2 separate regions of the Homo sapiens genome follow, and region 2 is linked to region 1. The links are contacts of gene promoters, found by promoter capture Hi-C in blood cells and fetal thymus (Javierre and others, 2016). All regions are on one chromosome and are shown on one strand. Each heading gives the region's core, a stretch centred on a gene start or on the middle of the fragment in contact. The rest is flanking DNA. Distances are from core to core; before and after follow the strand shown.

Region 1 (4,768 bases), core at 1,148-3,647:
TCAGCCTCCTGAAATGCGGAGATTACAGGCATGCACCACTGCACCTGATCCCAAAACACATACCTGTAAATAACAGACTAGCACTCTGCGAGGGTACAGAAAAACCAGTCTTGTCTCCCATGCTGTCCTTACTAAGGGGCCTACTCTCCCTGCATTGGACAGCTGGCCTCATGTACTATTTATCTGTTATTTGTCTCCCACTCTCTTCTTGATTTGCCTAGAAGTACCAGGTGAATTTGTGCCATTTAATGCGTATATGATCTGACTCCATGATATTCCCTTATTCCCATGTTTGTGTATGGATGTAGTGATCTAGGTTAGATACTGGATGTGTAGGTACTGCAGGAGGAGGTAAAGCCTGGACTCAGGGCAGGGCAGGTGCAGTGAAGACTCCTAAAGCAGCCTAGGGACTCGTGGGTGTGTGGAAGGAAGAAGTGTTGAAGGAAATAGGGAGAAGGTCATTCTCTGTGGGACAGACTTAGCTCCAAATGTGATTTTCACCATGTTCATGATTTTTCTTCCGTTTGAATTTGATAGACACATTGCAACACATCCCATTTCGCTGATTTTCAAATAAGGACTTGATCACTGGCAAGTGACCTTACAGCAAACATAAAGAAATCAACATTTGGAAGTGCATTTGCCAATTAGTGCTCTAGGCGGCAGAAAAACCAGACCGCCACCCCTTGAAGACCTGCCACAAAGAGCCATGTGGAAAAACTGCACAGAGAAATGGTGGTTGTGAACAAGAGTACTGCCCTGGAATGAAAGGTTTTAGGCTATGTTGGACTCACTGAAAAAAGAAAGGTTAGTCTCATTAGAAAGTTTACCTGGCTCTAAGAAAATAATTACTTATCTGCTAACACAACTTCCATAGCAATGAAACAAGTTCCTGTAAGTATAAATTATCACAATTCCAAGCAGACAAAAATCTGTGTCTCCTGAACACATTATAGGGGTCAGCCTATAGATAACTCCATTATAGGGGTCCTCCTAAAGATAACCTAAGTTATCTTGCATATTGTGTCTGCAGTGTCCACAATGAGTTGGTCTGTATTCACACTGGATGATACAGGATTTCTCCACCAGGTCCTCTCACAGGACTCCAGGCATTTTTACAACTTGACCACACAAAAGAACACTCAGGCTGCTCCTCCCTTGCTCAAGGGAAGTACAGTAATGCCTCTCTCCGTAGCCCTTTCATAAGACTGTGCATAGATAAACACAGGTGTATACATAGCAATCTTTATGAACTTTGCATTGAATGTGTCAAAGAACAGTGGCGGTCCCAACATTCCATCCATTGTCTCAATCAGGAAAGCTACTCCTGAGACCTCAGGAAAGAGGAGGAAAAAATTCAAGTAACACATATGTTTACGAAACACTTCAGTAACAAAACAAAATACTTGTATTGGAGAGAAAATATATATATTTTTAATCACAAGGCATAGAAAGTAAAAATAATCAGCCTTAATTAGGTTTCCTTCATTAGTTGACAATGTAAATGGACTGAAACTACTACTCAAATATTCAAACCTTCATTTTACATGCAAGTGGCTTCCAGAAAATGATAAAGCAATATTCCCATGTGAGTGTGAAAGATGGCAATGAATTCTGGCCCATTATAAAGGAAGAGTCAGATTCCACTAGTCACTGCTTCGTTTAACTGCCAGGCTTTTAGGGAGCTATTTAATAAAAGGGGTCTCGCCCTAATAAATTGTGAGCGGTGTAAATAGGTGAGTGGTGTAAATATCTGAAATAGCCTGCACTCAATGAGGCTGTAGACCGCTTGGGGTTCACAGACTTTACAAAAATCATTCCGTAAAAAAATTACGTAGTGACAATCCTACCATTTAAAAAGAATAATGATGGTGATAATAATAGCTGGACAGGATCCTCCACTGCTGCCTGCTTCCCACATAAGTTGCCCAGCTGAAGGTGGTTAAGTTAAAGCCAGTTCTCTCCCCATTAGAGATGCGGGCTGGCAGCTGGCGGGGGAAGTCACCCAGTTTCCAGCTCCCCGTGGGTTTGACGGGACTGGGATTGCAACTGGGAACTAACTGGCTTGTAGGAAGCCCAGGTGGCTCAGACAGGGCTCGAGCTGTCCCCTCACCACCTTCCTCCCACGCAGACACCAAGTTAGATACGCAACTCCACGAGCACAATGACAAGAAGGCACACAAAAGGAGCAAGGCAGCCGCTCCCATCCTTACCTTTGACTTGACTTTCATACTCGGCTATGATCTCTTTGTCCTTCTTGAATCGGCTCGGGGTGGACATTATCCAGCTGTTCCGGGTTTGCTTTCAATGGGCAAGTTTTGTTCAGTGGTCACAACCCGTTCTCCTTGGAGAGGCAGAGTTGTACTCCCACACGCAGGCAATCCAGAGGCAGCGCCGACCCGAGGGAAGGGAGGAGGGAGAGGAGAAGTAGGAGGAGGAGGGGAAAAAGAGCGAGTAGAGAGGACTAGATTAGCCCGGGCGCTGGCACCATACTCTCGAAATTGAGCTCCGTCGGTAATCCCAGGGGATCCCCGGGGGAGAGGCCGGACGCGCAGGCAAACTCCAGCCAGCGAGTGGCGGGGGACGTCTCCCTGCCCACCTCGCCGGGAGCCCGGCCACTTCCTCTACGGCCGCTGGGCGGGCGCGGGGCTCGCGCCGGCGCTCCGCACCATTGTTCGAGACCCGCACCGGGCGCCCGGGACAGGGCCAGCGGCGGAGGGCAGGCGCTGGGAACGCGCCCAGCTCGGGCGCCACAACCCTCCCTTCCTGCCTCCAGCTGTCGGCTCCGGCGCTCAAGGGTCCCGCCCGGGCTGGGGATGCTGCTGCCACGGCCGCCGCTCCTCTGCCCGCAGACACTGCCGCTACAGCTCGGCAGGCGAAAGGAATCGCAGTCCTGACGCGAGTCCCCGCTGCTGCTGAGAGGGTGAAGGCGGCGACGCTCAGACGCGCCCTGGGCACAGCCCCGGCGGAGTTTAGGTCTCCAGAGCCGGCGCCGCGAGGGGCCTCTGCCTCCCTGGCCGCGGTGCGCCGAGGCTGCCTTTCTCTGCGTCCCCCTTTCCGCTGCTGCCCCCAGGAGGCCGCTAGTGACAGGCACACTCGCACACGCACGCGGGAGCCGCGCCCCCGGCGGCAGCAAAGTTGAGGGTGCGCACACGGCTCGCGCCTCGCGGGCGCCCGGCTAGCGATCTGCGGGCGGTGGCTCCTCGGGGCTCCGCCAGGCGGGGCCAGGCTCGCGGGAGCGGACCGCGCTCCGGCCTGTGCCCTTCTCCGTCCAAGCTCCCGCCCCTGCTCCGCTAGGAAACGCCTGGCTGGTCCGGGAAGATGGATGCCTCTTGTGGCCAACCGCAGCCCGGCCCCGCGCGCCGAGCCCAGGAGGCCGTGGGCGGCGCCCCCGGCACCTCCCTCCGCCGAGGCCCCGCACCTCCCTCCGCCGAAGCCCCGCTCCACCGCTAGCCGAGGTCGCGGCTCCGGCGGCAGGAAAACCCCTTCCTGACCTGAGGGACCGCCTTCTGGCTCTGGCGGGGGCTCTGGTGGGGCTTTTGCCAGAATCTAATGGGGAAGTCCAGAGTTGGATGTATCCATGACACAAAGGGATGTTACTCCGAGACGCTGGACCCCAATAGAAAAACTGAACACTGAATTGTGAATGACCTGGCTGTTAATCCAAAGAGCGCGAAGCTCTTCAATCGAGGCGGAGAAAAACACCCACCTTGAACACCATATCCTCTATTCCTACAGTAGATAGGGAAGCTAGGATGGTAGGAAAGCGATGGTATGGAAACACGTCACACTTAACGGCGTTGTTAGCTTATTTATTTACTAAACTCCAGATTTTATTCCAATTTTACCAATTTTTTCGACTAGTGTCATTTTTTCTGTTCCAAGATCCAACACAGGACACTACATTGCACTTAGTACTTTTACGGTTGTTTTTGTTTTTGTTTTTTGATTTTGTTTTTTGGGGGTTTTTTTTGAGACGGGGTCTCACTCTCGCCCAGGCTGGAGTGCAGGGGCACGAGCTCCGCTCACTGCAACCTCCGCCTCCCGGGTTCAAGTGATTCTCCTGGCTCAGCCTCCAGAGTAGGTGTGACTACAGGCGCCCGCCACCGTGCCTGGGTAATTTTTGTATCTTTAGTAGAAACAGGGTTTTGCCATGTTGGTCAGGCTGGTCTTGAACTCCTGACCTCAAGTGATCCGCTCACCTCGGCCTCCCAAAGTGGTAGGATTACAGGTGTGAGCCACGGCGCCCGGCCACGTTTTTAATAGATACCTTTTACAAGATCTATCGTGTCTAGTCTCTTTTTATTTTATTTGTTTGTTTGTTTTCATTTTAGTACAGACGGGGGTCTCCCTATGTTGTCCAGGCTGGTCTCAAACTCTAGTCTCTTTTTGAACAATATAACGAAGAATTTACCTTGCCATCTTTGCATGGTTCAGGTGTTGTGTTAAGTACTTTAAATCCATCCTTGCCAGCCTTTTAAATTTTTTTTTATTATTTTTACTTTTTTGTAGAGATGAAGCCTTGCTCTATGGCCCAGGCTGGTCTCAAACTCCTGGCCTCAAAAGATTCTGGCTGGGCACGGTGGTTTACACCAGTAATCCCAGCACTTTGGGAGGCCGAGGTGGGCAGATCACAAGGTCAAGAGTCCGAGACCAGCCTGGCCAACATGGTGAAACCCCATCTCTACTAAAAATATAAAACTTAGCCGGGCATGGTGGCATGTGCCTATAATCCCAGCTACTCAGGAGGCGGAGGCAGGAGAATCGC
Region 2 (4,268 bases), core at 1,436-3,935, 420 kb before region 1:
AGGGTCAAGATTCTAAACCCTTTGGCCATCTTTATAATACAAGCACTGCCATTTACCACCATTACCTACCCCCGCAGTCATCAGCTCTCCATTTGAAAGTATAGGTAGGTCGGGCACTGTGGCTCACGCCTGTAATCCTAGCACTTTGGGAGGCCAAGGTGAGTGGATCATGAGGTCAGGATTTCGAGACCAGCCTTGCCAGCATGGTGAAATCCCGTCTCTACTAAAAATACAAAAATTAGCCGGGTGTGTTGGCACGCGCCTGTAGTCCCAGCTACTCAGGAGGCTGAGGCAGGAGAATCGCTTGAACCCCGGAGGCGGAGGTTGCAGTGAGCCGAGATTGCACCACTGCACTCCAGCCTGGGTGACCGAGCAAGATTCTGTCTCAAAAAATAAATAAATAAATAAATAAATAAATAAATAAATAAATAAATAAAAAATATATGTAAATAGGCTGTGCACGGTAGCTCATGCCTGCAATCCCAACACTTTGGGAGGCCAAGGTAGGTGGATTGCCCGAGCAACGGAGTTCAAGACCACGAACATGGTGGTAACATGGTGAAACCCTGTCTCTAGTAAAATAAAAAATTAGCTGGGCGTGGTGGCGCACACCTGTAGTCCCAGCTAATCGGGGTAGGCTGAGGCACGAGACTCACTTGAACCCGGGAGGCGGAGGTTGCAGTGAGCCGAGATCGCACCACTGCACTCCAGCTTGGGTTACAGAGTGAGACTCCATCTCAAAAAATAAATAAAAATATAAAAATTAAAAAATTAAAAATATATATGTAAATAATATATAGAGATTATATGTAATTATATATAATTATAATTTTAAAATTTCATCTATATATAATGCGGGTAAGAACACTGGTTTTGGAGCCGAAATGGTTTAAATTCCAGTTCTGCACTTGTTTTGGACCTTAGGAAGTTACAAATATTTGTAAGCTGCAGTTAAAGCAAAGATAATATAACCTACTGCAAAGGGTGTTAGGAGATTTAAATGAAAACATAAATGCTTTAGCACACAGCACGGTATCTGACATGCAGTAAAGACTTGGGGTATATATTGTTAAAGTTAACAAAGCTGGGTGAGAATTTAGAGACTAATAAATATTGCCTTATTTTTTTAACCAATCTGAGGACCAGCCGCTGTACTCATAGAACCCCTGGTCTATAGAGCATTGGAGAACAGATTCATTTGAATTTTTTTTTTTTTTTTTGAGACTGAGTTTCACTCTACTTGCCCAGGCTGGAGTGCAATGGCACAACCTTGGCTAACTGCAACCTCTGCCTCCCGGGTTCAAGCGATTCTGCTGCCTCATCCTCCCAAGTAGCTGGGATTACAGGCTCCCACCACCACGCCTGGCAATTTTTTTGTATTTTTAGTAGAGACGGGTTTCACCATGTTGGCCAGGCTGGTCTCGAACTTCTGACCTCAGGTGATCCACCGGCCTCAGCCTCCCAAAGTGCTGGGATTACAAGCGTGAGCCACCATGCCCGGCCTGACAAGTGACTATTTTCACTGCTTACCACCAGGAAAGAGTGTTGGCTCTAATTAGCGCCATCAATGGAAGATCTACGTGGAAAACACTCTTTCCAAGGGTGGACAGAAAGCTTTTTAGTTCCTAAACTTTTTTCAGCCTTTGACTTGAACGGGTAATTGCTAAGTGACCAAATTGAAATAGCCATTCTTTACTTACAGAGTTCCAAATGGATTTACAGGTAGTGTTAGAGGAGATACATGAAGTATTCCTTTTCTTTTTTTTTTTTTTTTTGAGTTTCACTCTTGCCCCCCAGGCTGGAGTGCAATGGCACGATCTTGGCTCACTGCAGCCCCACCTCCTGGGCTCAAGCAATTCTCCTGCCTCAGCATCCCGAGTAGTTGGGATTACAGGCATGTGCCACCACACCCAGCTAATTTTGTATTTTTAGTAGAGACGGTTTCACTATGTTGGCCAGGCTGGTCTCGAACTCCTGACGTCAAGTGATCTGCCCGCCTCGGCCTTCCAAAGTGCTAGGATTACAGGGATGAGCCACTGTGCCCAGCCAAATTTCTTGAGTTTTACTGAAATTTAGATACTCTAGCTACTGTGCAAAGAGGGAAAAGCCTGAAGTTCCTATAACTGATAGCATGTTTTACATAATTTCATATTGAATCTCACTCACTGGCGGTACCACTTTTAATTTTGCATGAAGATGCTTGAGAGTACATTAATAAATGTTCTATAAGGCAGCTGATAAGCATAGTGAAAGCTTTTTGGCTGCTAAGCTTCAACCTGTGCCATTATATTTTTTCTGAGGCTACAACCATTTGTTTTATATTTCACATATTTGCATATTAGAGAGGTTCAGTGATAAATATGGAAGAGAAGCTGAAAATTCTTGACGAGATAAATTTGATTTTTTTTTTCTTGAGATGGGGTCTTGCTATATTGGCCAGGCTGTAGTGCAACGGCTACTCACAGGTGAGATCACAGCACACCACAGCCTCAAACTCCTGGGCTCAGGCAATCCTCCTGCCTCAGCCTCTCGAGTAGCTGAGACTGCAGGTACATGCCAGCATGCCAGGTTCATGGTGGGAATTTTTGAACAACTCTTAATAGTGTTAAATTACTGTCTGATTGCTCTTTGTTCATTGGATTTGCTTCTAAAATGCAGTACAGGCCGGGCGTGGTGGCTCACACCTGTAATCCCAACACTTTGGGAGGCCGAGGTGGGCAGATCACTTGAGGTCAGGAGTTCGGGCCCAGCCTGGCCAGTATGGTGAAGCCCTGTCTCTACTAAAAATACACAAATTAGCTGGGCATGGTGGCAGGTGCCTGTAATCCCAGCTACTCGGGAGGCTGAGGCAGGAGAATCACTTGAACCCAGGAGGCAGAGGTTGCAGGGAGCCGAGATTGCACAACTGCACTCCAGCCTGGGCAACAGAGCAAGACTCTGTCTCAAAAAATAAATAAAAAATAAAATAAAATAAAATAAATGCAGTGCAGGCTTGTAAGGTCAACTTGAATTTGGGTATCTATAGTGGGGAGACAGCCATTCTCCATGCCGTCAGACCAAGCACTTCTCTGTATTTCTGTGCCTTGTGGATCTGAAGCTTTTGTCATTTTGGGGAAGGCAACATGATTCCTTGGCTAGAAATCTGGGTAGTGTAACTTTTGGGATAAGATGCTATGTCAGACCTTGTTCTTACTTGTCATCAGACTTTTGGCAGGTTATTTTAAATCTTCCAGAACCTTTATTTTGTAAACTATGAGATAGTAAGAAGCCTACCTTAAGGGTTTTTGTGAATATGTGAATATTAATTAATTTGTATATAAACATCTAATTCTATGGTTACTATATATTAGGATGACCCATATAGCATTGCCATTTTCAAGTCCGAAAATGTTGGGATCTGCAATTCCATATGGTTCAAACAAACAGCAAGCCCTCAATAAATGGTAGCTATTATCTTAACAGAAATACTCACTTGCTTAGTGACCTTGTACTTTAAATATACAGTATATGGTTTATTCTCATTTCCCAAGTAGTTTGACACTTTGTTATAGCATGGCTTATTCTTGCACAGATTTGCATAAACCATACATCAAGTCATAGAATTCACTTACAAATTATTGTGTGGTTATAACATACCTAAACATTTTCAGAATGGAATTAATTTTCTTGATTGCCTTATGTGACAGTAAAAGTCTGTTCTTCCACTAGTCTCTCCCTCTAAGTGAATGGCACTCCATTCACTCCACTACTCAAAAGAGAAACCTGAGGGATCTGTTTCCTCCCTTCTCTTTATTCCCCAAATGTAACCCATCAGCAGTGCTTATTGGCAATTTCTTCAAGATATATTCCTGATCTACTGACTTCTCATAATTATGGCTATTACCCTAGTTTGAATCTCCAGCAACTACTGTAATAGCCTATTTAGTCACTTTTGACCCCTACAATCCATTTTTTAAAGGGACGGTGGTATTTTGAACATGGAAATCAATATAACTTCTGAGTTAATGAATTTAAATCTTTTTTTTTTTCTTTTGGAGACAGAGTTTCACCCTTGTTGCCCAGGCTGGAATGCAATAGTGCAATCTCGGTTCACTGCAACCTCCACCTCCTGAGTTAAAGTGATTCTCCTGCCTCAGCCTCTCGAGTAACTGGGATTACAGGCACCCACCACCATGCCCAGCTAATTTTTGTATTTTTAGTAGAGACAGGGTTTCACCATGTTGGCCAGGCTGGTCTCGAACTCCTGACCTCAGGTAATCTGCCCTCCT

Evidence for each region. Contacts are between HindIII fragments. The CHiCAGO score rates a contact against its expected background, and 5 or more counts as called.
Region 2: a fragment that was not itself captured here is called in contact with the fragment with the promoter of SRGAP1 in region 1 in 1 of 17 cell types (M1 macrophages); the score reaches 5.9 in M1 macrophages.

The regions. Positions count from the first base shown.
Region 1 is chr12:63,842,329-63,847,096 of GRCh38, reverse strand. SRGAP1 (SLIT-ROBO Rho GTPase activating protein 1) reads right to left here and starts at 2,397. Exons shown (of 22, transcript NM_020762.4): 1 at 2,214-2,397. The coding sequence starts at 2,280. RefSeq lists silencers at 2,555-2,814, 2,925-2,984, 3,045-3,464 and enhancers at 2,391-2,890, 2,891-3,392. The HindIII fragment of the contact is 14,499 bases long and covers 1-4,768 here.
Region 2 is chr12:64,260,248-64,264,515 of GRCh38, reverse strand. No RefSeq gene overlaps it. Among named protein-coding and RNA genes, the nearest start is that of KICS2, 40 kb to the right of the region's middle. The HindIII fragment of the contact is 828 bases long and covers 2,272-3,099 here.